Regions from separate parts of the Homo sapiens genome. Here regions 1 and 3 are each linked to region 2. The links are contacts of gene promoters, found by promoter capture Hi-C in blood cells and fetal thymus (Javierre and others, 2016). All regions are on one chromosome and are shown on one strand. The core of a region is centred on a gene start or on the middle of the fragment in contact, and the rest is flanking DNA. Distances in the headings are between cores, read along the strand shown.

Region 1 (2,805 bases), core at 96-2,595, 3.1 Mb after region 2:
TCTCATTTGTAAGTTGAAAATAATACCAAACTCCAGGGTTTTGTGAGGATAAAGTGTTTGGCACAATGTAAAGCACAGAATAAATGCTCAACACACATGAATACTGCCATAAACATTACTTCGCCTTCCTGCAGACCAACTCCGACTCTGCATGAAACAGAAAATCAGAACATTTATTTGGTACTAATCAAATTTCTTTTCATAATCTTTTACGGATAGACAATACCATTGTATCCCCATTTTAAGAGGCAGTCTTTCAGTCTTTTCAAAGCATAACTTTGAAGCCAGAATTGCCTCGGTTAGATTTCTTCTTATTATTATTATGATGATTTGAGACGGAGTCTCGCTCTTGTTGCCCAGGCTGGAATGCAATGGCACTAACTCCGCTCACCCGAACTCGGCTTACAGCAACCTCCGCCTCCCGGGTTCGAGCGATTCTCCTGCCTCAGCCTCCGAAGTAGCTAGGATTACAGGCATGCACCACCACGCCCGGCTAATTTTGTATTTTTAGTAGAGACGGGGTTTCTTCATGTTGGTCAGGCTGGTCTGGAACTCCTGACCTCAGGTGATCTGCCCGCCTCGGCCTCCCAAAGTGCTGGGATTACAGGCATGAGCCACGGTGCCCGGCTCTTCTTATACTTATTATTTGCTTGCCTTAGACAAGTAACTTCACCTCTCCAAGCCTGCATTCTAATGCAAAACGAACACCAATACCTATTTTATGAATTATTGTAATAATTAAACGAGGTAATACCATACCTGAAGTATCTTTAATGCAGCAGATGTCAAAAGTGGTAGCCGCAATTATTTTTATTTTGTAAGGGAGGATTAAACACATTTAAATAGGACATCACAGGAGCGGAGCTGGATCCCAGGTCAGCCTGATTCCTAGGCCGGCGTTCCTTATTGATTACAACATAAGGCAAACAAGTCGTCTTTGGAGAGAGAGGTTGGGGAGAGAAGAATGTTTAATTTCTCCATGCCCTTCAATGACATGTATAACCTTCACTGTTGACCATTTGGCCAGATTGTTGAATTATGTTTTGCTCTCTGGCAACTTGGGGTGTGGAACGTACAATAAAAACGCCTTCACACTAATAACCTCCAGGCCTGTCCCCAGGATTCTACAGCATGAGCTTTGTGGGTAAAGAGAGCTCACCAAATTCAGCCTCCAGCAGCACACACAGCTCAGTAGCAGCGCCCCGCCCAGATGTTTATATTTTCCTCCATCGGCCCCGCCCCCCGACCATGAGGGGCTCTAGCCACGCCCCCAAGCTCAAGTTTCTGGGGCCGGACTAGCCCAGCGCGTCTGCCTACCCATAGGGATTCCCTCTCCAGCCAATCCAGTCAGAGCAGCGGAGCTGCCCCGAACAAAGATGGCGCGGGAAGCGTCTGTGAGGGCAGACTGATCCGAGCACCCAAACCCTCGGCGGACAGCGGAGCCAGTGGTAGCCGCACGGCCCTAAAACCATGGAGGAGGGCGGCAGCACTGGCAGTGCTGGCAGTGACAGCAGCACCAGCGGGAGTGGCGGGGCGCAGCAAAGGGAGCTGGAGCGCATGGCTGAGGTCTTGGTCACCGGGGAACAGCTACGGTAAGGCAAGAGACACAGCGGGTGAGCTCACGATGGCACTGCCAACGCGTGCCCGCTGCAGTCCTGCGCGCACGCGCTCCCTGGCTCGTGGCTTGCGACTCGCGTGGGGCGCCGGAACGGCTGCGGGCGCGTGGATGGTCCTCGGTGCGCCCGCGCTTAGCTGCTGCAGCCTCGGTCCCTGAGGACTCGCTCGCCAAGCGGGGCTGCCTGGCAGAAGCCGACGAGCGGGTGGTGCGCGCTGCGCCCTAGCCTGGCTGCTGCAGTCCTGTGCCGGGCAAAGTCCCTGCCACCCACCGCGCTGTCCGTCTTCCCGTGTACCTGGACGCCGCCAGGCCTCCCGGCTGACAGCCTGCGCCTCATCCGCGAAGAGAGCAAGAGGGGTCGCTGTGGGGTCCCGAGGCGACCCCAGCCCCTCTACTCCTTGATAAAAGGAGCAAGACCAACGATAGTCTTCACTAGGTTTTCCTTTTTGCTGACAAGTCTTCCTTCACTCCCCTGAGCCTCGGTGTTTTACATCTGTAAAACAGGGCTGATTCAAGGGCTTTTTGTGAGGTTAAACTGAGAGAGCATTTCTGAAACCCTGCACCTATCAGTTAATTGGCACATCGTCCTCAATCATTTGGGTCCGCAAGGGGGCGTGGAGGCACCTTGTCGGGCTGCCTTGAGGCTGTGCCAACTCCCCGGGCTCGCACGTTTTGGGCAGCAGGATCCATGGGGACCCTGGCTCCTGCAAGAATTAAGACTTGCGGCGTCTCACGGAACTTGGGAACAAGGACGACCCCCAGAATCCCCCTTGCCATTCCCATCCCTGTATGGTCCTTCCTCTAGGGCTGTTTGGGAATAGTACTTATGGTCTAACTGGTTCTGCAGCTGCCCTTCGTGTGGTTATAAATCAGTTTGCCAGGAAAAAGAAAACCCAGCTCTGCAGCGTTTGAGCCACAACTTGTACGCGGGCCCCTGTTACTTCTAGTTCTTAGCCTGAATTCCCCAGCTTGTTTTGGTTTCTAAATGTCTGTGTTTCAGGACCTGAAAGAGTGTCTTGCAAAGGTCTCTGAAGGAGACCAATATTGGAAGTCAGAATTAACTGATTTTTAATGTTACAAAAGGCAAATTGCACCTATCGATTCTTTGTTGATTTTTAAAAATACGTGGTCAGAATTAAAGGGAATAAAAACTTTTTTTCCTTCATCAAAAGTACTTTCTAATGAAACCT
Region 2 (2,924 bases), core at 69-2,568:
GACCTTGAATCCAACCCTGCAAAAGTTTTCATGGCTTCCAATTCCTAAATTCATTTTAAGTTTAAATGAAAGCAACCATCTAAGTGATGTGCTGGGACTCAGATCAGGGCTAACATTATAGATCTTATTCCAATTTCATAAACCTACATATTGAAATAAAACCCCAAATGCAAACAATGCATTCAATCACGTTGTAAATCATTTTCTGTGCTGGTTCTTTCAATCTTTAGCCAAAACTAGATCTGGGACAGATTCCAGGCAAGGACAAAAATGCAAAATTCCATACTCCCCATTCTTTGATTATTTTACCTTGAAGTGGATACTCGACAGTTAGCCACGGGAGAACTTGAAATTTTCTGATTCATTCTCCTCATTAATCAAATTGACCAAGTAATTTTTAAACCTCCAGTCAGCTTTGTGCCTTCCTGTTACTGGCCCAGTATGTAGTCTTCCTATGTCAGAGACCATGCACATAAAAAGAGTACTTGAAACTTATCTAGACCTACAACCAGTTTGACAGTGAGGAAGTTGAACCCAGCTTTCTTCGGGAGTTGCCCAAGATCAAACGGCTTGGGTTTGTGGCAAAACCAGGACTCAAGGTTAGGAATTCTGACTCTAGGCAAACGAAGCTCTTGAGAGTTCTTCCAAAACACTCCATGCGAGTGATTTAGGATGGTCCTAAGGCAGGAGGAAATGCAAAATGGTGGCACCCTTTGCCCTGACAAATGGTTCCTGAGTGACGTTAGTTTCTATGGTGGTGTAGCAAGAACATTTGAACTTCAGGCACGAAAACTGGGTTCCAGACACTAACAAACTACGTGCCCTTCGTGAACGTGCTTAATTTCTTTATGGGAAAGCAGCCAGTACAAACCTCCCCACTCATAGCTATCCAATATATCATTTCCTTCTTTCACTTGGGAATTATAAACATTCAGGGGAATAATGTAAGGTAAATCACTTAGGACAGTGTCTGGAACATATTAAGGCTCAATATTATCACTGACTACTACTATACTGCCAGTCTTTCAGAGAAGCTCTTGCTACGCGCCTCTAAAACGTAGGTAACACGCTAAATGTATTCTCGTAATTTTCTTTTACCGTGGCCCCAGACTGCGCATGTGCGCCCCCGTGCGGAATCGCGCACCCCAGCGGTTTTCCAGCGTACGCACAAGTTCCGCCCTAAGGGACCGCCCCTTTAAGCGCGGGCACTGCGGTGGAAGCGCGCGCTGGTCTGGACATGACGTAAACCAATGGGCAGGCCCGGAAGACAGAGGCGTTTGCTTCCGTGGCCAAAGGCGCTTCATTTCCGGGTGAAACTGGCATTGAGGGTACTGGGGCGTGCGTGAGGCGTTTACTGATGCTTCCTGGTCCGGTGGCCTCGGTCCCGGTAAGCCAGGCATGAAGATCACAAGGCAGAAACATGCCAAGAAGCATCTTGGCTTCTTCCGCAACAACTTCGGAGTCCGCGAGCCGTACCAGATCCTGCTGGACGGCACCTTCTGTCAGGCGGCGCTGCGGGGCCGCATCCAGCTGCGGGAGCAGCTGCCCCGCTACCTCATGGGGGAGACGCAGCTGTGCACCACAAGGTGGGCCCGGGGGGCTGGGGAGGAGGCACAGAGGGTCCGTCGGGTGTTGTAGAGGCGAGGCCGTTGCTCACAGACCTTCATTGCGAGCTCAGGAGGTGCAAAACGCCCCGCCCACGTGGAGTTGACAGTTAAGTGGAGAGGTGAAGGTGGTCAGGCGAATACCTATAATAGAGGCAGATTGGACAGTGCCCTGTGAATATCACGTGTCGTTAGCCTGGCGAATGAGAGCACATTATAGCAGAGAGATCCGACTTCGAATCTTGATCCCAGTTCTACCAGCTCTGTGATTTCTGTCAAGTTATTTAGCCTCTCTGAGCCTCGGATTCCTCATTTGTAAAATAAAGATGATAACTGCTTAGAAGATTGCTGTAAGCTCAAACGAGTATAGTGTACTAGAGCATTTTTCGGTATCCAAAGTGTACCCGTCTTCAAATGGTTGCTGTCATTTGCATAGCTTTTCTTAGTTTAAACCAAAACTCTGCAAGCCTCACAGTGAACCTGTGAGTTACCATCTTTGATGTCCAGGGCAAAAAGTCAGTACTTGAGATTAAGGAATCTGCCCAAGCACATTTGTTTATTCAACTCGCTTTATTAAGTACCTCCTATATGCCACATACTGCTCCCTCATGGCCAGTAAAGTGCATAAGTCAGTCTGCAGTGTGTGTTTTCACTCTAGGTCTGATGTTTCCCCACTTCATTGAAATGTGGGAACACTTAGGATGGAAGCTTGTCGGGATGAAGAGGAGAGAGGAGAGAATTGTGACAGATTTCAGATAACATTTGAGCCCATTCACTTGTTCAGTTCTGAGAGGAAGAACTATTTTGAATGACAGAAAAGAATGACACTTCTTGTTGTGGAGACCTCTTCACACGAAATGGAGTTATGAAATGCCTGGGAAAGAGGTTGCAGCACAGAATATATTTGGGAGTGAAACTAGGAAGAAGGCAAATTGAGGCTAGGCCATGAAGAACTATTAAGAAATTTAGTAGTTTTTTCATTGTAGAATATTTACTTTTAAAAAGCAAAAAAAGAAAATTAAAATGACTCATAATACCACTACTCACGAATAATCACTGTTAACATGTGCAGTGTCATCCATCCAGTTCTTTATACACACTCACACAAGCACAAGAATGGACTTTTAAGCCAGGCAAGGTGGCTCACACTTGTAATCCTAGTAGCTACACAGGAGGCTGAGACAGGAGGGTTGCCTGAGTCTAGGAGTTTGAGGTGAGCCTGAGCAACGTAGGAAACCCCCATCTCTAACTACAGCCATAACAAAGTATGGGCTTTTTCTGTGTATACTGTGTTAATAGTCTCCTTTTCCTCACATACGA
Region 3 (2,882 bases), core at 31-2,530, 3.1 Mb after region 2:
TATTCTTGAAACACAATTATCTGGAAGACTACAAACTTTCTAAGTACTGTGAGGGGTGGATTGTTACTCTTTATAGTGGACTTGTTACTATTTATAATTGTTGAGAATAAACTTACCACAACAGATTTTCTCTGGAAATTTATGTTGTTGATGCAGACGACCTGATGGGTTGTATATTAATAAATATAAAAAGAAAATAAGGAAAAAATAATTTTTATTATTAAATCAAAGTATAATTCTATCCAAGTATAAATTAGGACTATGTTCTAAGTAATTCAAAATTACATGTCAATATTTCATTTTAAAACTACGAATTGGGGCCTGGTGCGGTGGCTCACGCCTGTAATCCCAGCACTTTGGGAGGCCACGGCAAGCGGATCACGAGGTCAAGAGTTCGAGACCAGCCTGGCCAACAGAGTGAAACCGAGTCTCTACTAAAAATACAAAAGTTAGCCGGGCATCGTGGCACACGCCTGTAATCCCGGCTACTCAGGAGGCTGAGCCAGGAGAAAAGCTTGAACCCGGCAGGTGGAGGCTGCAGTGAGCCGAGATCGCGCCGTTGCACTCCAGCCTGGGCGACTGAGAGACTCCGTCTTAAAAATTAAAAAATTAAAAAAAAAAAAACACTCTACCAATTGGGATAATTTTTTAAAATCTAGCAACAGTCACGAAAACAGATTTGACAGAAATACAATCTAGTACTTAGACAAAAACTTTAGTAACTTGCAACGGGAATTAAATTTGCTGAATAACCTGTCATTCAAAACATTTTTACCTTACAAACACCATTTCCATCACAGTGAGTAAATTCTAGTTTCCCACTAGGTTTCCCAGGCCCACCAAGTCAATTTCAAGCAATCGCAAAATATAATTAATGGCAACAAAACCAAAAGGAAGGAAGGGAAATGAAAAAATACTTATAATTTATATGGCCTTGGGCTTTCAAAGCCCTTGTCTCCTTTCTTCCTGTTCATTCTGGCGGGCTCTACACCAGTCAGCGGCATGAAGCGGTCCCGCGGAGCTTGGCTTCCCGGCTTCCTAGGGGGATACGGGGCATTACTAGTCTTTGGCACCTCACACTCTCCACTCCCCTGCGGTCCCCAAGTCACGTCTCGCAGCTGGCCGGTGCCCAGGTGAGCGACCTGACGGGTCGCTGCCCGCCTCAACCTCGCTCCTTCGACTAGCTCCTAGAAGCCGCCGTCGACAAGCTTCTGTCACAGAGATGCTCCTCTCCGCAAGGGCTCGAAGCTACCATCCGCCGACATCTTGTCTGTAACCTCTGACCTCCGACGTCAGCGGAAGTGGAACGGCGGCGGGGGTAGAACCAGGAAGTCTTGTCAATGGGCAGGGCTTGCGATCTTCGCATGTGTCTTATCGTAAAGAATTGTTAAAATTTAGGATAGGGAAAAAACTATTTAATGGATGAAGCGAGAACAGCAGGAAGAAAAGGAGGGAAGGTAGTTTTCTAGTACAAGCATATTGAGAAGAATGGAGGACAAAGTTTGCGAAGAGCCAGGTATAAATAGGCTGGGGCAGGGTGCTAGTAACTGGGCGGGGTGGGGTGGTGGGAAGTCTCCCGAAATCAGGAGGTGCGTGCCTCTGGCTTGCTGTGTGAACAGACACACTGGGTCCGGTGATTTAAGCTGTAAAATATGTGATTAGACTGCAGGTAGTCTAAATGTCAAAACTGCAGCACTCCACAGCTCTCACTAGGCACTGCTGCCTTAGTATTTATTTTAAAATATAGATTACAAGGCCGGGCGCAGTGGCTCACTCCTGTAATCCCAACACTTTGGGAGGCCGAGGCGGGCCGATCATTTGAGGTCAGGAGTTCGAGACCAGCCTGACCAACATGGTGAAACCCCGTCTCTACTAAAAATTACACAAAATTAGCTGGGCGTGGTGGTGCACGCCTGTAATCCCAGCTACTTGGGAGGCTGGGGCAGGAGAATTGCTTGAACCTGGGAGACGGAAGTTGCAGCGAGCTGAGATCGTTCCACTGCACTCCAGCCTGGGCGACAGAGCTGAGACTGTCTCAGAAAAAAAAAAAAAGAATAAAATATAGACTACAGGCCAGGCGTGGTGGCTCACGCCTGTAATCCTAGCACTTAGGGAAACTGAGGCAGTCATATCACTTGAGGTCAGCAGTTCAAGACCAGCCTGGCCAACATGGTGAAAGCCCGTCTCTAGTAAAAATACAAAAATTAGCCCTGCGTCGTGGCGTGCGCCTGTATTCCCAGCCACTCGGGAGGGTGAGGCACCAGAATCACCTGAACTCGGGAAGCCGAGTTTGCAGTGAGCTGAGATCATGCCATTGCACTCCAGTCTGGGAGACAAAGCGAGACTCCCTCTCAAAATAAATAAATAGACTACATAGAGATATATAGACTGTGTATATATATCATATAATCCATATAAATGCAGAAACATTTATTGAAAGACATTTCGAAGCCATCGTGTTTGTATTTCATGTTCATGACAATAAAACTTGTAAACTTCAGTAACAGTTAAACCTTCTTTAATTATGGATTAGCCATTAACATTTTTGAAACGTGGACCATTTAACCTCGGCCTACCCCCTCCAACTGTCCTGGTGATGAGTTCATTAGCTAAGTTAAAATTAATTTGAACTTTGATCTAAACCAAAACAAATCAGGAAAATAAAGCTGTAAAGGAACTTTATCAAGCATTCCAAAACCAACTAGAAATTACTTGAAGTTTTCGAGTGAGCATTGCCTGTGCCAGTATTCTTCATTATAGGATTATAAACTCGTTTTTTTCCCAAAGCGCATGTCTACGCCAGGCAGAGGAGTAATTATTCAGCCAATTTCATGGATGTAAACGATGGATATAAATAATTGATAGCACCTAGAGGCTTCCAG

Evidence for each region. The method cuts DNA at HindIII sites, captures the fragments that hold promoters and counts their contacts. A CHiCAGO score of 5 or more calls a contact.
Region 1: the fragment with the promoter of DEPTOR here is called in contact with the fragment with the promoter of UTP23 in region 2 in 1 of 17 cell types (non-activated CD4 T cells); the score reaches 6.1 in non-activated CD4 T cells.
Region 3: the fragment with the promoter of TAF2 here is called in contact with the fragment with the promoter of UTP23 in region 2 in 3 of 17 cell types (non-activated CD4 T cells, total B cells and total CD8 T cells); the score reaches 7.0 in non-activated CD4 T cells.

The regions. Positions count from the first base shown.
Region 1 is chr8:119,872,377-119,875,181 of GRCh38, forward strand. It overlaps DEPTOR (DEP domain containing MTOR interacting protein), which reads left to right and starts at 1,346. Exons shown (of 9, transcript NM_022783.4): 1 at 1,346-1,592. The coding sequence starts at 1,471. RefSeq lists enhancers at 1,173-1,467, 1,208-1,708, 1,384-1,643, 1,709-2,209, 1,844-1,943 and 1 more and a silencer at 1,192-1,364. The HindIII fragment of the contact is 2,864 bases long and covers 1-2,805 here.
Region 2 is chr8:116,765,206-116,768,129 of GRCh38, forward strand. It overlaps UTP23 (UTP23 small subunit processome component), which reads left to right and starts at 1,319. Exons shown (of 3, transcript NM_032334.3): 1 at 1,319-1,586. The coding sequence starts at 1,399. It also overlaps a transcript of EIF3H not described here. RefSeq lists enhancers at 1,236-1,385, 1,396-1,705. The HindIII fragment of the contact is 9,967 bases long and covers 1-2,310 here.
Region 3 is chr8:119,831,561-119,834,442 of GRCh38, forward strand. TAF2 (TATA-box binding protein associated factor 2) reads right to left here and starts at 1,281. Exons shown (of 26, transcript NM_003184.4): 1 at 922-1,281; 2 at 117-171. The coding sequence starts at 1,004. It overlaps DSCC1 (DNA replication and sister chromatid cohesion 1), which reads right to left. Exons shown (of 9, transcript NM_024094.3): 9 at 2,416-2,882. LOC105375728 (a long non-coding RNA gene) reads left to right here and starts at 1,319. Exons shown (of 4, transcript XR_928590.3): 1 at 1,319-1,516. RefSeq lists enhancers at 933-982, 1,043-1,402. The HindIII fragment of the contact is 3,868 bases long and covers 1,207-2,882 here.